4 separate regions of the Homo sapiens genome follow, and regions 1, 2 and 4 are each linked to region 3. Evidence: promoter capture Hi-C in 16 types of primary human blood cells and fetal thymus (Javierre and others, 2016). All regions are on one chromosome and are shown on one strand. The core of a region is centred on a gene start or on the middle of the fragment in contact, and the rest is flanking DNA. Distances in the headings are between cores, read along the strand shown. Region 1 overlaps DOK5 (docking protein 5). Region 2 has its middle 200 kb from the start of DOK5. Region 3 holds the start of PFDN4 (prefoldin subunit 4). Region 4 overlaps DOK5 (docking protein 5).

The links. Contacts are between HindIII fragments. The CHiCAGO score rates a contact against its expected background, and 5 or more counts as called.
Region 1: a contact is called between a fragment that was not itself captured here and the fragment with the promoter of PFDN4 in region 3, in 4 of 17 cell types (M0 macrophages, M1 macrophages, M2 macrophages and 1 more). The highest score is 9.8, in M0 macrophages.
Region 2: a fragment that was not itself captured here is called in contact with the fragment with the promoter of PFDN4 in region 3 in 1 of 17 cell types (M0 macrophages); the score reaches 5.9 in M0 macrophages.
Region 4: a contact is called between a fragment that was not itself captured here and the fragment with the promoter of PFDN4 in region 3, in 2 of 17 cell types (M1 macrophages and M0 macrophages). The highest score is 12.4, in M1 macrophages.

What each region holds. Positions count from the first base shown.
Region 1 is chr20:54,623,294-54,627,432 of GRCh38, forward strand. The region is part of intron 6 of DOK5 (docking protein 5); the gene reads left to right. Among named protein-coding and RNA genes, the nearest start is that of DOK5, 150 kb to the left of the region's middle. The HindIII fragment of the contact is 639 bases long and covers 2,123-2,761 here.
Region 2 is chr20:54,669,674-54,673,812 of GRCh38, forward strand. No RefSeq gene overlaps it. Among named protein-coding and RNA genes, the nearest start is that of DOK5, 200 kb to the left of the region's middle. The HindIII fragment of the contact is 731 bases long and covers 1,202-1,932 here.
Region 3 is chr20:54,205,420-54,209,446 of GRCh38, forward strand. PFDN4 (prefoldin subunit 4) reads left to right here and starts at 2,668. Exons shown (of 4, transcript NM_002623.4): 1 at 2,668-2,705. The coding sequence starts at 2,682. LOC124904937 (a long non-coding RNA gene) reads right to left here and starts at 2,622. Exons shown (of 2, transcript XR_007067669.1): 1 at 2,538-2,622; 2 at 1,527-1,637. RefSeq lists enhancers at 1-217, 2,065-2,882, 2,423-2,742, 2,883-3,699 and a silencer at 2,733-3,002. The HindIII fragment of the contact is 8,273 bases long and covers 497-4,027 here.
Region 4 is chr20:54,604,158-54,608,147 of GRCh38, forward strand. The region is part of intron 5 of DOK5 (docking protein 5); the gene reads left to right. Among named protein-coding and RNA genes, the nearest start is that of DOK5, 130 kb to the left of the region's middle. The HindIII fragment of the contact is 2,611 bases long and covers 1,384-3,990 here.

The DNA of each region.
Region 1 (4,139 bases), core at 1,192-3,691, 420 kb after region 3:
TGTCAATAGGGCCAAGGTTGAGAACGCTTGCTCTTCTGATAGACAGGTTCTGCTTGAAGCTGGGCCAGAATTGGATGGGTCTGTGTGTTTGGGGTTGAATATCGCTTATGAGCTGTGCAACCCAGCTTCTGTTTGCCTTGTTCACATCATATGTAATAAGTGGGTGATACTAATGTCTCTGCCTGGTTTTGTTAGTTCACATGAGCTAGTGCATGTAAGGCAACGAGACGAGGCATAGTAAGATTCAACACATGTGAACTATTACAGTGATTTCGTCTTTTTTTATTTTTATTTTTATTTTTCTGAGATGGAGTGTCGCTCTGTCGCCCAGGCTGGAGTACAGTGGTGCAATCTTGGCTCAATGCAACCTCCATCTCCTGGGTTCAAGCAATTCTCCTGCCTCAGCCTCCTGACTAGCTGGGACTACAGGCGCCCACCACCATGCCTGGCTAATTTTTTGTATTTTTAGTAGAGACAGGGTTTCACCATGTTAGCCAAGATGGTCTCGATCTCCTGACCTCATGATCCACCCACCTTGGCCTGCCAAAGTGCTTGGATTACAGGCGTGAGCCACTGCACCCGGCCAGTGATTTCCTTCTTACTTACACAAACCAATATGAGTTGGGCGAGGAGAAAGAGACTCACCTTGAAGCAATGGGGATATAAACAGGAAACACCAGGAATTTGAATGATGGAGCCGAGAGCTCTTGTTTCCTTAAGACCCTGATGATGTTTGTGCAGTATTAAAGAATAGAGCAAGCACAACCACATGTGACTATGAGGTAAGGCCCCTGTCTTCTGTGCAGCTCATAGCCTAGTACTCAGCAGGAATTCCAGAAATACGCACAGTCAGTTATACCTGCTTTGTAAAGCAAAGTGCAACAAGAAAACAATATGTGAATACATGGTGTAGGCGATTCTGCCCAGCAGCCCACCCCTTCACCCTGGCATGTGCTTGGCATCTTGTCACAAAAGCACCTGCTTCCACTGAGTGTGAGCCTAGTGTTTAAAGGGACAATCTGATTATATGTGATTTTTATGTTATGCATTAACTTTAAAAGCTGACCTCTGAGTAAGTGGCAGCTCCATTCGAGCCTGTAAACCTCTGGAAGGCAGGGACAAGGCCCCATGGGTGTGTAATAAGCTCAGGGTCTGGCACAGGGCTTAAAGGTTTGTTGAATGAACAAAATAGGGATCAAATAAGTTATTGTGTGAGCCAAGAGAAAAAGAAAAATCGAAGCCAAAATACCAAGTCCAGTTCTCTCCTAATGCCCAAACAGGGCACAGGTTCCAGGCAAGTCTGCTTTAAAAGGCCACAGAAAACTCAGTCCCTAAGGATATCTATTTCAATGTATAGGTGGGGGAGAGAATTTTTTTAGTAAGGAGGCAGAAAAAGTTACCGGAGGCAAAGGGAGCAGTGAATTTGTTTTATGCATGTGGCTGAGAATTCAGATGGCTCCGAATAAATTGATGCAAATCACTTTCATTCCCCATGAAAATAACCATTTGAGTGCATCTGGTGCTCGGCAACATGCTGCACTTGGAAATTTGGCCCCAAATGGTTGATTTCACTAACAGTCTGCTTTGTCAAAGCTGTAAGCCACAATGGAGGCATTGTTTCTGCCAGAGTCTGCTCACTGTGTAGTGTCTTTGCTGCATGTTTTTTTTTTTCCCTTAGCAGGAAAGCGGTCTTTCTTTCTTACCCACATTTTTTTTTCTAACATCGAGGAAGTAAGCCTCTACTCACTCTATTTTCTTGACAGTTTCATAATATTCTGTGATACCTTGGTAACATTTGGATGATAGGAGTACCCATCACTTTTCCTCCAAATGTCAGAACAAAAGAGAGGACTTGGAGAAAGTAAAGACAGCTCTTTGGGTGGTTCCTGCCAAACATCTGTCAGAGCTGGAATCAGAATTAGGCAGCCCATGAGGACTGGTTCATTAGAATGTCGGGGAAGACCACATGTTTGGCAGATCGTTAATTTCCACTTGAAAGAAGGCCCCTGGGACAGTGGGGGTCCAAGGGCCTCATAGAGGTTCTAATCTCCTGTTTTTCCAGATGGTGGGGGCAGCGTCATCTCCTTGCAGCCTAGACGTTTGGCCAGTTGCCATTTCTTTAAGCTTTGGAAATACAGTTAAGGTGCCTTTTATCATTTGGAACGGAGTAGATTTGAGTCCATCCTTTAGGATCTGTATAATACTCTCAGTACTTTCTATGAGAAATATGTAGAATTGTGTTATGAACTGTAGCTCTGGAGTAAGAGGCCAGGTCCTATATCCTGGCTGGACATCTTTACCAGCTCAGGGTCCTCGGGCTACTAACTTTACCACCCTTAGTACTTGTTCCCCCTTCTACAAAGTGTGGATTATATTAGTTCACAACTTGCCAGGTGAGATAAGGCAGGTGATTTCTTGGCACAGTGCCTGGTACCTATTAAATATAGCAGCAACCTGAGCTGTTATTATTACTGACTTGTAGTGGGAGAATAAAATGGCAAGGGAAGGCAGATTATAGGGAATCCCCATTCACACAAATGATTCATTCATTTCTTCAATCAATTCATCCATCCATAATTCAATTATCCAATCCCTTTTTATTAAATGCCTACTATATGCCAGGAATCATGGTGGGCACGACATCTATGAGCATATACAAGAAATCTCTGCCTTCAGGAAGGAGAACGCTGCTGCGAGGAGGGTCTTCTCTCCTTTTTAGAGGAAGGAGCACCGTTGTGGAGGCAGACAATGATATATCCAAAGCTTGGCTTTCAACTAGCTGTCTGACCAGACACTCTAAAATCCTGGGGGACAGAGAAAGTGTGAAAGTTTTTATTCATTTTAAGTTTGCAGACCCTGGCACAGTGTGTGGCTTATAAATGATGCCCAGAGTACATACATGGATGGGATGAGGGAATGAATGAGCCGAAGAACACCGAGTGCAGAATTCATCGAAAGGGGTGAGGGAAAGAGCGGAGGTTTTTAGGTAGGAAGCATGTGAGCAGAAAACCCAGTTAGGAGGCTTCTTCTAATTGAGGGATAATTAGAGTTGGAATGAGTGGCTCCATCTGGCTCTTTGCTGAGAGTCTGCGTGCTTTATTTCCTTCAATTTTCACAACTATCCTTGGAGATAGGGACTGGTTTTTGAATCTTATTTATTTTTACATAAACACATGTCTGTAAAATTTAACTAACTGCAAAATTATGGTCATATAGATGATGATTAGTGCTCTATTTTTTCTTTTTATAATTTGTTTACATGCATTTTCCCCCTCCTGTCTCTTTATTAGCAATTCCTAACCTTGTTAAGAAGTTCACATGTACCTTTCCATGTTTTCCTGTGTACCCATATTATCCTGTACAGATATGCACATCTACATATATACATAGACACATACACAGATACATACAAAAGATGGGTGTCGTGATGCAATTGTTTATTTTACAAAATTGTGATCACAACACACGACTAACCCCTAGTTTTTCCGTTCAACAGTAAACATTTAATGGAAATAGTTTGAAGTCTTGTAGTACAGTTGTAATTCAGAGGTTGACAAACTACAGCCCACGGGTGCAATCTGGCCTATGACTGTTTTTATAATTTAAATTTTATTGGAACACAGCTACATCCTCCCTGTTCATTTATGAGTTGTTGTTCACACTGAAACAGCAGAGTCGAGTAGTTGGTGATGGTGTGGCCTGCAAAGCCATTTACTATCTGGTCCAAAACAGAAAAGTTTGCCGACTTTGTTCCTATTCATTCTTTTTGATGGCTGCATGATATTTCAGAGTCTTGATGTAACATAATTTATTAAACGTACGTATAAGAATATCAGATTTTTTGCCATTAAAACAATACTCTTTGACTGTGAAGTGAGTCCCTGAAAATAAAAAACAAAACAACACAACAACATCAAAACCAATACCGCAACAATTATCCTTGTACACAGTTCTTATAGATTGTTAACCTTATTGAATTGAGTTTGTGAACTTTAGTTAATGGAGTTTTCTAAACTCGGGAGTAGGATTGCTGAATTAAAGGATTTAAGTCGCTTTTTAAAATATTTAAATCAGTGTTGCTGCCTTGTCTTTTGAAATGCTGGAGTATCTTGCATTTTATTGGACATATTAGTAGATCC
Region 2 (4,139 bases), core at 317-2,816, 460 kb after region 3:
AAAAATAATAATAATAATAATAATGTTCTTGCGAGGATTAAATAGTGTAATAAATGTAATAAATGTAAAGTCTTCAGGATAGTGCCTGGTACAGGGCTATCACTCAATAAACATTAGTTTCTATTAATGATATTATTTTAGATAGGTTCGAAGCCAATGCTGCATAAAGATTGTTCTCACCATGACCAACTTATCGTAGCTTTCCCTGGACTTTCCTGCTTATAGCATAGAAAATCCCAAGGCTGGGGAAAAAACCCTTGTACTGGGCAAACTGGGACACGTGGTCGCACTAGTCAGATCCCAGTACAACAGTCAATATTTTGTTGCGTCCTGTCCATAGTTTTGTCCACAAACACTGTGTGATTTCATTACCAAGACTTGTGCTCAGTATTTACAATAACAAAGATACAAAATCAATGTAAATGTCCCTCAGTGGATGAATGTATCAAGAAAGTGTGGAATATATATATACGATGTAATATTGCTTGGCCCTCAAAAAGAATGATGGCAGGGCGCAGTGGCTCATGCCTGTAATCCCAGCACTTTGGGGGGCCGAGGTCAGGAGTTTGAGACCAGCCTGGCTGACATGGCAAAACCCCATCTCTACTAAAAATACAAAAATTAGCCTTGAGTGGTGGTGATTGCCTGTAATCCCAGGTACTCAGGAGGCTGAGGCAGGAGGATTGCTTGAACCTGGGAGGCAGAGTTTGCAGTGAGCCGAGATCATTCCAGCCTGGGGACAGAGGAGAGCGAGAATCCATCTCAAAAAAGAAAAAGAAAAGGAAAAAAAATCATGTCATTTGCAGCAACATGGATGGAACTGGAGGTCATTATCATAAGTGAAATAAGCCAGGCACAGAAAGACAAATATGGCATGTTCTCACTTATATGGGAGCTGAAAAATTGATCACATGGAGGTGGAGAGTAGAAAGATAAATATCAGACAGGGAAGGGTGAGTGGGATTGGGGAGGAGGATGAAGAGAAGTGGGTTAAAGGGTACAAACATAGTAAGATAGATGGAAGAAATTATTTATTCAATAGCAGAGTAGTGACTATACTTAAAAATGTATTGTACTTGGATAATGGACACCCTGAATACTGAATACCATTCATAACTACACATTATATACATGTAACAAAATTTTGCATGTGCTCCATACATGTGTACAAATAAAAAATATAAAAACATAAACAATTGGAAGCTTATAAACAAAGAATTGTGCTCAGTAGCAAGGGTTCCATCATGCTCACGGTCCTATAGGAGAGGCAGCAATCAGCTGGGTTTGGGATCGCCAGGCCAGCAGAGCAGCAAGAGGCATCATGCGGCATACGCCGTGTTTCTATTGAGGGAACAGTACTTCAGGTAAACATCAGCAAGCCGACAAGATTTCTCCAGGGAGAAGTTGATGTGAATGAGATACCTATTTTAATGGACCCAGAAAAGACAACTCTATTGTCTTACACTAGAAAACAAGTGATTTGTATAAACGAATGCAGCCTGGGGAAACGGGTGCCACAGACTTATTAGCTAATGGAAAGCGTAATTTTATATCTACTTCTCAGTTTTCCCAGGCACTAACAGAGGGCAGAGTGGCTTGGATTATCTTGCACTGGTGAAAATCTAAGAAGTCTCCCAGTTTTCTGCTAGGCTGAAACTTTCCTGATCTGAGATCCTTTCAAAGATTTGGTCGTGCATTTAGAGAATCATTTTGCTTTAGATAAATTATGGTTGTTGAAGTTGACGCTGCTGAATTGCCTATGCATTCTCCATGTTCTTTCTTACTAACAACCCTGATTTTGTTTGGGGAAGCAATTATTCTAATTGAAAATACTTTTCCAGATCTGGGGTATCCTGGGACTCAATTACGTCCAATGAGATATAAGCAGAAGTCTCTGCAGAAGACGTCCTTCCACCCCTCTCCTCCCTAAAAAGCTTCTAGAAGTCAAGGTTTTTGTCCTCCGTCCTTAGCACTCTCCCCTGCATCTTGCCTGGAATGCAAATAGGATGCTCAGAGGTGGAGAACCTTGCTTCCGCGAGGAGCAAAGAGGCTTGGTAATGATGCCAGAGAGGAAGTCAGCAAGAGTGTGGGTCCTTTATGACTCCCCATGAGTTGCTGTACCAACTGCGAATGACCACATCTGGACCTATGTCATAGAAAAATCTCCTGTTTGGTTAAGCCATTATAGATGGGTTTCCAGTATATGCAATCAAACAGAATCCTAACAGCCAATAGGGGTTTATTTCCATGGTATTTTGTAAACATTGTGAACAGCAAAACCTGGCAGATATGTGGATTTAGAACAGGTTTTGTGTGTGTGTGTGTGTGTGTGTGTGTGTGCACGGTTCTTTGAGTGAATGGAGTTTTTACACACCAGTGTCAGGGCTGCCTTCTCTGTGAGACACAGTAAGTGCGGTGCCTGGAACCTATGATACTTTTTCTTTTTTGAGATAGGATCTTGCTCTGTCACCAAGCCTGGAGTGCAGTGGCAGGATCACGGCTCACTGCAGCCTCAAAATCCCAGGCTCAGGCGATCCTTCCATCTCAGCCTCCTGAGTAGCTGGGATTACAGGTGCACCACCATGCCCAGCTAATTTTTTATTTTTTGTAGAGACTAGGTCTCCCTATGTTTCCCTGCGTGGTCTGAGGTGATCCTCCCACCTCAACCTCCCAGAGTGCTGGGATGATAGGCATGAGCCACTGTGCCCAGTTTCATGGTACTTTTAAGATCCATGAAAATGTTTTTACTTTCTTCTAAAATCAGAAGAAAAAAATTCATTTTGGATTTTGTCTTTATACCAACTCAGCCATATAATATAATTTTAAAGACCTTTTAATGGAAAAAGGGGCCCATAAAGGCAACAGTATTTATAGCCCATGAATTTATACAGCCTAGGATACCTCCTCATGTCAAAAAGAAATTGGTCTCATTTCTTCTTGTTAATTTTCCATTCCAATTTCTTCCTTCTCTGGATAAAGGAACATATATCTGCATTCAGCAGAGGAGGTGGGGGCACTGGAAAGGCTTCAGCCTTTGACAGAGCTGGGTTTGAACCCCGGCATGACTACACAACTTCTTTCATTTCTCTGGGTATCAGTTTTATAAAATGGATTGATTAATATCATGTATTTAATCAACAACTTGAATGCCCGTGATGTAGAAGTGATTTCTGTAGTGGGGTAGCACTCTTATGAGGACTATAGAAATTGATACATGTGGAACCCAATATTTGGCTCATGTTTGACACTCAGTAAATATTGTTTTTTTAAATCACCTTCCATTTGGTTGTGAGTTGCTTGCCTATTGCACAGTCCAGTTACCTTCTCTACTGCTGTGTGGAACACTGGGATCAGGAAGGTGGCTTCCTCTAGGAATACAGTCCTCAATCTTTGCAAAAGAGCGATCCTTTTCACTTGCGTGTAATTAAGACCCCATGCTTCTTCCCACAGTCATGACCATGAGATTCCATCATTCCTCTCTAATGACTTTGTTCTGTATCACTGTTTGTAAAATGCATTCCCCACACACAGCAATCAGAGAACAGTGTAACATCGGTTAATTCAAAGACCCACTTATTCAACTCTCATTGGAAGAAGCTGTCAGGATTTCAAACATGGTTTTTTGTTGTCGTTGTGGGGATTTTTTTTTCTGCCTTATTATAACTCCCTTGAAGATCAATCTGTGAAAAAAATCAATTGGTTATTAGAAAAATGCACATTTCCCCATTATAATATTATACTGTGCCTCATCAGAGTGCACTGAAGATTTTGTAGTACGTTATAAAAGTGCCAAATATAATTTGTATGTAAATGTCTTATGTAAAGTCTTACTTTTATTTTTCTACCGCATACGGAAAAACACACCAAGTGAATTTGAGGCAAACACAATGATAGATCCCACTGTGATAAGAAAACACCCTAATGCAAAGTTGCCAGTAGGAAAGAAGACCCTTTCCTTGTGTTACTTTGTTTAGAGCCTGTTTGAGAAATATCAGCGCTTCTTTTCTACAGCAGACAGATAACTAAGGTTTCATTTCCTCTTCTATCAAATATGCCCATTTCAACCCATTTGTCTCCTGCCTGGTTCAGGAATTTTTAAAGAGGCACCAGAGAGAATTGTGTGCCATAATATTCTACCC
Region 3 (4,027 bases), core at 1,418-3,917:
GACTCACAGTTCCACGTGGCTGGGGAGGCCTCACCATCATGGTGGAAGGCAAAAGGCGCATCTTACGTGGTGGCCGACAGGAGAGAATGAGACGAGAGAAAGGGGAAACCCCTTATAAAACCATCGGATCTCATGAGACTTATTCACTACCATGAGAACAGAATAGAGGAAACCGCCCCCATGATTCAATTATCTCCCACCAGGTCCCTCCCACAACACATGGAAATTATGGGAGCTACCATTCAAGAGGAGATTTGGGTGGGAACACAGCCAAACCATATGAACTCTCATTATTATTATACTTCAGCAAAAGGCAAAGGTTAACGTAGGTGAGAGTTTAGGTCCCTTCTGGTCCTAAGATCTATGCACCTGAGGATTGAAGTGCTTCTCTCTCTCAAAGCCCCTATGCTACTTTCGGTCCCCACCATACAATTACATTTCCTCAAAATTCCTGCTCCGCTGTTCCTCAGCTTTCAACTCAGCCATTTCTCAATAAAGCTTTGAAAAAGTCAGAATTCTTTCTCTCTTTCTCTCTCTCCCTCCCCCAGTTTGGCCTCACCAAGTTCTAAAACATGCCCAGATCTGGCCCCTGCCTTGCACCCCAGCCTCGCTCCATGCTGCTCTGTCCTTTCTACCATGTCTCACCAGGCTCTTTCCCTCTCAGCCCTCCACCCCTGGGGTCCACTTTCGTCTCCTCTCCCCATGCTGAGGCCTCCCATTTTCTCTTAGCTTAGAGGCCAGCTCCAGAGCTGGCCCCCACCCCTCCCCTCTGTGCTCTGCCTCAGCACCTCATTTATCTCCTTCATGCACTTGGTACCATTTGTGACAATTTTGCCCTTTATTTCTGTCTCCCTCTCCACCATTTGTTTCTTGCAGTGCTTTTACATTGAGCTCTGGAATAAACAGATATCACTGATGGAGCATCTCCTATGTGCCAGACCCGGTGCTAAGATTTAACCCTGGAAAAACATCTTTATTCAACAAATACTTTTTTGAGCACATATGAGCTACACACTGGAAAGTCCCAATACTAAGGGCCTGGAGAGCCCAGAATAGGCAGGAGAACAGGCGATGCCCGTGGCGGGCTAGGTGGTTCGGTGGGGAGGGCACAGGGTGCTATAAGGTCTCATTCCCCTCATTTAACCAAAGAGGAAATTGGGACTTTGAGAAAGGAGGAGGCTTGTCAGGGGCAGTTCTCAAGCTGTGGCCCATGAACCTCGGGGGTCCCTGAGACCTTTTCAGGGATCCATGAGGGCCTCCCTTTCCCAACTACATGATTTGTATGAGGCTGGGGTTTTTCATACCTACAACTAGGCAACTAAACAGTGTATTTGGAGAGACTGAATGCAGAAGTAGACATGAGAATGTAACCTTCCATTAAGCCTGATATTAAAGAGATCAGTGAAAATGTAAAATGATGACAATCTTCTCAATTTATTTTTGTCTTAGAAAATATAGTTATTTTTAAAGTGTGATTTTTATTACCATGGAATGGAGTTTTATATTATTTTAAATGAATTAATAAATACATTTTAAAAATTCTGCTTTAATTTCTAATACAGCAAATATCGATAAATAACCCACATAAACAAAAGTTCTTTGGAGTCCTCAGTAATTTCCAGGAGTATAAAGAGGTCCTAAGGCAAAAAAAAAAAAAAAAATTACTAATTGGGAGACACAAGTGTCAGAATATACAGTAATTGTTCAGTAATATTGCTGTAAATTAATTAATAGGATTGCCTAGTCACAACAGCAAAGGCATGGAATCAACCCAGATGCCCATCAGTGGTGGATAGGATAAAGAAAATGTGGTCCATATACACCATGGAATACTATGCAGCCATAAAAAAGAACAAAATCATGTCCTTTGCAGCAACATGGATGCAGCTGGACATCATTATCCTAAGTGAATTAACACAGAAACAGAAAACCAACCACTCATGTTCCCACTTATGAGTGACAGCTAAACACTGGGTACTCGTGGACATAAAGGTGGGAACAATAAATGCTACGGATTCCAAAAACGGGGAAGGAGGCAGGGGAAAGGGGTTGAAAAATTACCTGTGGGGTACTATGTTCACTACTTGGGCAACGGGATCATTAGAAACCCAAACCTTAGCACCATGCAGTATATCCATGTAATAAACCGGCACACATACCCCCCGAATTTAAATTAAAAAAAAATTACATTAAAAGATAGGAGTACCTCCTTTACACCACCTGAATTATCATGGCACATAAATCTCACACCCTATTTGCCAAGGCCATTCGTTCCTAGCTGTTTTACAGGTAGGTTAGCTTTCTCAATGCAAGTCTGTGGGACGGATGGAGAAAAATTCCCCGAGCCCTTTGATCCTGCCCCAGCTGGGCCCCGCCGCGCTGAGCCTTGGGCGCGCCCCCTGCTGCCCGCGGCCGGAGCCGTTCGCCACACCCCCGTGTTTATGTCGGTCCACGGGGGTTGCCTGTCCCTTTAATTGGCATGTACCAAGTCCTTCCAGGTCACATTTCCTCCCTACGTCCCAGCCGTTTGGACTCACTGGCCAAAAGTCCAAGAGGACGGAATGTGGAGACAGTGTTGTATTTTTGCGGGGAGTTCTAGGCCGACCGGGAGCGAGAGAACGCTCGGGGGCGAAGCGCGCCATTGCGGCCCTCCCCGCCGCCTGCGGTAGTCCAGTCCCAAGATGGCGGCCACCATGAAGAAGGCGGTGAGTGGGGAGCTCGGGGCTCTGGATGCTCGGGCGGCGCCGGATCTCGGCCGCTGGGGCCCGGGCGCGGGATGCTGGGGGTGCGCAGCTCCGAAGCCCGGCGTGGGACCCGAGGCCGAGGCCGAGGCCCTGAGAGCGGTCCCGCGGCAAGGCCTGCTCGCGCCTGGCGCCCTGAGCGTTTTCCTAGGCACCTGGCCAGCCGAGGCGGGGCGCCGGGGCTGGGGCCGGGAGCCTCGAAGGACGCAGGTCCGCCTCCCGCGATGCCGAGGGTGCCCCCGGGGAGTCTGAGGAACCTGCAGCCCCGGCCTCGCCCCTGAGGTGTGGGAAGCCGAAGGTCCCGTTGAGTGTGGTTGGCCTTGACTCGGGCGTTGCACCGGCATGATCGCATTAGCCTCACTGGTTATGGGTAGCTGCTGCTGGGAGCGTGGTTACGGGTGAGGAAACTGAGGCCCAGAGATGGGGAGTCACCTGCCCGAGGTTACGCAGCTCATAACGGGGACAGCAGGTTCCTGCATCCCCAGATTAGCAGGCCCCAGAGACCCTGTGTCCAACCTGGAGCTGCCCATTTCCACGCTTGATGCCCCTGAGTCCTTCAGGCTAAAACCAGTATTTATTGAGAATGGAAGATGTGCCGGGCCCAGCAGCCGGCCGTTTATCTGTTATCCTCCCCGCAACTCAGCAAGTGCAATGGGTTCCTCTCCACTTTGCAGGTAGAGAAACTTAGACACAGAGCAGTTAGAGGCCCTAAAGTGACTCAGCTAGTAAGAAGCAGAGCTGGAGTTCAAACTCAGGTTTGTTTTTGTTTTTCTCAAAGCACGCCTGTGTAACCACTAAGCCGGCTAAACTTCCATGTGGGGTTTTTAATCCCGTGAGCCTTCCCAGATGTGTAAAGATAGTCAGATAGAAGAAAAAGAAAATTGGAGAGGGGGAAGGAGATAACGGCTGATAATTTGGGGAGCTTTACAGTGTGCTAGGTACAGCTGTAAGTTGTTTTGCGTGTATTGTTTATTTTATGTTCTTTGAGGGAGATACTGTTTTTATCCTTATTTAACAATGAGAAAACAGGCGCGGAGGCAAAGCTAGCATTTAAACACAGGCATTCTGACTCCGGAGTCTGTGTTTTAAACTGCTATAGGGGGTCTTTGATGAGAATCTCTTGGCTGGAGGGATTTGCGTTCATTCCACTTTTAAGACCACATTAGAACTTCTTTGCTTTGCCCCTATCCAGTACCACATAGTCTATGCCATCTGTGCCTGGTGTAGGGTGACCCATTGCCCCCTTTTATATGAAATTGAGGGACTGCCAAAAATGGGAAAGCCCC
Region 4 (3,990 bases), core at 1,439-3,938, 400 kb after region 3:
GGATGGTCTCGATCTCCTGACCTAGTGATCCACCCACCTCGGCCTCCCTAAGTACTGGGATTACAGGCATGAGCCACCGCGCCCCGGCCTCAAACTGTATTTTTAGTTTGCCTCACTTTCACAGACAAAAGTAAACATTCTGTGCTTTTTTTTTTTTTACTTTTAATTTTATATCCCTCTCTGTCAGGTGCTTCGGATCTGTTTCTCTCAGGTTTTTGGATTCCAGATTTTCATTTTCCCAACGCTGACACCCACCCCTCTTCTCAACTGTACATTTCCTTTTTTAATTGCCGCATCAGTATGGCTCATGCAACCATGATATTATTCTCAAATGTTTTGCATATGTAGATCTTGTCTCTCCAAATTAATTCTCAGCTCCTCAAAGAGAAAGCCTATGTTTACATCCTTCACAGCGGCTGTTATGCTTTGTCTCTGATAGGTGTAACAAGTACCTTATTCTTTCAATTATAACGTAATTGTAAATGTAAAATACAACATTGATTTAATAGCTGCCTTGGCAGGGGTAGGGAAAAAGAAAAGCTTACCTTAAATATACATGTTGGCCGGGCACGGTGGCTCATGCCTGTAATCCCAGCACTTTGGGAGGCTGAGGTGGATGGATCACCCGAGGTCAGGAGTTCGAGACCAGCCTGGCCAAGATGGTGAAACCCCATCTCAACTAAAAATATAAAAATTACCCAGGCGTGGTGGCAGGTGCCTGTAATCCCAGCTACTTAGGAGGCTGAGGCAGAGAATTGCTTGAACCTGGAAGGTGGAAAGGTTGCAGTGAGCCAAGATGGTGCCACTGCACTCCAGCCTGGGCAACAGAGCAAGACTGTGTCTCAAAAAAAAAAAATATATATATATACACACACACACACACACACACGTATACACACACACACGTTGAGGTCAAAATGTGTTCTGCTTTTGGCAGTGTCCATATATTCTACACACACACACACACACAAACACACACAGAGAGAGAGAGAGACAGAGAGAGCCATGTGCACAGAATACATCTTGGAAGCAAGAAAATATGAAACTTATTGGCTTACTGATTTCAAATGTTTACTTATTCATTCTGTCTACCATGAGATAATTTATTTTAGTTTTCATAATTTCAACCCCATTAGTATTTTTCTAATAAGATATGTTAGTGTGCAATGTTATGGGCAAAACGAGAGAACAGAGTTTCTGAAGTTGGGCACTCAGTGCATATGAACCATAGTGTCTTGGTCTTGAATCTTCACAGTACCCAGGATCACAGTCCCAGCACATGCACACTTGTGCTCTGTCCACTGGGGGCTCAGCCCCGCAGGCTACCCCTCTTCCCACCACCTCCCCAACATGTTGGCTTCACTTACCTGTGTCCCACCTTAAAGCTTTATATGTGCAGTTCTGTCTGTCAAGGCTGTTTTTCCTGCCTTCTTTCTCAAACCACTCCCCTCCCCAGGGTAACTCAATGAATTCTCAGTGTCAGTAAAAGTTGCTCAAGGAAGCCTGGGTCAGGTTCCCGGTGATGCTTTTCCTAGCACTGCCTTCTGCTTCACAATTCATTCTACAGTTATTTATTGAACATGAAATGTAAACCAAGCCATGCTCTAGGCATTAGTGGAAAAGCTGCGAGTATATCAGAACAAAATCCCCGTCTACAGGGAGCTTACATTCTGGTAAAGTAATGGAAGCTCTCTTTACTTCAAGATGTAATTGTGTACTCTACATATCCTATTTAATACTTGCAGTAAATCTAGGTGAGAGTTCTTAGCATTACATTTGTTTACATATAAAAATGCAGATTTAGGCAGGTTAGATAGCTGACAGTAGGTCACAAAGCTGGTGAGATGGCAGGCCAGCCAGGTGATCCCTGGTCAAGCTCCTGCATTCTATTATGTTGCCTTTGGTAGGTGGAAGAATGAATCCTTCCCAACATTTTCTGAGCTATTGGTTCCTTCTGAATTCTTGAATAATTGAATAATCCATGATTCGGAGTGACAGGCATTTCATTTAGGCAATTATTGGGAAACTCAAAACTATACCTGCATCTATATGGCAGCAATATTATTATATTTGAATCCTTATCATCACAGAGGAAATTAGAAAGGCCTAACTTAAACTTTTTTTTTAACCTTCTCTGGGTTTCCAATCCACTGGTTTCCATTAATGTACGGAGTGTTTGGGCCACTTGGGGCCACTTTGGATACAGGAAGAGCATCCAGGGTAAAAATCAATGGGTAAAGAGAAAGGAGGAATCGGGAGCAACAGAAGTTAAAGCAGGTGGCTTTGCTATTCTGCTAAAGGGTAAACCCATTAGAACATCTTTGTTCTGTGTTGCATTTTCTCTGGAGACGAGAAGCAGACATGGCTGTAGGAGGTTATGTAAGACCATTAGCCTGTTTGATGTGCCTTTCTTTTCACTTCCTTTTTTTGGTTTGTTTGTTTTCTTCTTACTGCCTTGGGGAGTTAGCCCATCATATGGTTTTGATGGAGGCATGTAGTAACATTTTAGAGTGTTGTAAAGCTGCTTATGAAACGGTTCCAAACACATCAATTAGGAGGGGTGGATAAGATAAAAGGACTTGTGGGTAGAGTATAGAAGAGACCTGATGGAAGAGCATCTGAAGGTCAGTTTGTGGTCATTAGCATCTTCATGGGTCAGGCTGTCCAATGAAGGACACATGGCTTTGAGCAATAGGAGCAAAAGTCCTAACAATTTACACCAAAGGCCTCATTTCTGTTCTATTTAGAGCTCTTAATGCATTTTGTGTCTTTAATGCACAGTGGTGATTTCTTGGCCAGATCTGGTTGATTAAGGCCTTTTGACTCTCACAACTTAAAAAGAAAATGAAACAAGTTGCTGACATATAAAATTCAGGTGACTTCACATAAAAGTCAAGAAGTCTTGCTTCTCTTAAACATAATAGAATGCAGGAGCTTGATCAGGGATCACCTGGCTGGCCTGCCATCTCACCAGCTTTGTGACCTACTGTCAGCTATCTAACCTGTCTAAACAATCAGAAACTGTGAGTACCTTGGACGCGTATTTCCCCATTCCCCCACATAGACTCCTGTCTAGGGCTGACTTCTGGATACCATGCTTAGACAGGACCTGTGCTCTCTGCTAGCTGCGCTACCTCTACCCTAGGTCATAGTGAGTTTGAGCACCTTTATGCATTCACGTTCTCTGCCTGAACTCTAATGGAATTTGAGGTTGTGTCTCCTGTTGTTTTCTGTTAGTGGTAAGTGGTGTGTGTGTGTGTGTGTGTGTGTGTGTGTGTGTTCCAGATCTTCAGGCAGAGGAGAGGGAAGTCCATGTACATTAAAGAAGAATGTTTAGTCCTATAGTTTTGGTTTCATTTGTTTTTGATAACAATATTTATTTAGAGATTTAAATGTCATTAAGGGAAGGTTGTGGATTTATTATGTTTCTTAAAAGTGGGCATTGGGGGCCGGGTGCAGTGACTCATGCCTGTAATCCCAGCACTTTGGGAGGCAGAGGTGGGCAGATCACGAGGTCAGGAGTTCGAGACCAGCGGCCAAAATGGTGAAACCCCACCTCTACTAAAAATACAAAAATTAGCTGGGAGTGGTGGCACATGCCTGTAGTCCCAGCTACTCATGAGGCTGAGGCAGAAGAATTGCTTGAACCCGGGAGGTGGAGGTTGCAGTGAGCCAAGATCGCACCACTGCACTCCAGCCTGGGCGACAGAGCGAGACTCCATCTAAAACAAAACAAAACAAAACAAAACAAAACAAAACAAAACAAAACAAAGTGGGCATTGGGTAAGAGTGATTTTCCAAGAGTAAAATTAATTAATGGGTTATGATATAAATTAAGCATTCCACCACTAGTATTACAAATAAGATAGAATAGAAAATAATAGCATGTTATAGATTGATGATAGATTGATAGGTATACTGGCTAAAAATCTAAACTACATTTCCTACGGCGGGTTGCAGTTAACAAAGACTTTGAAAGCAACTAGATTG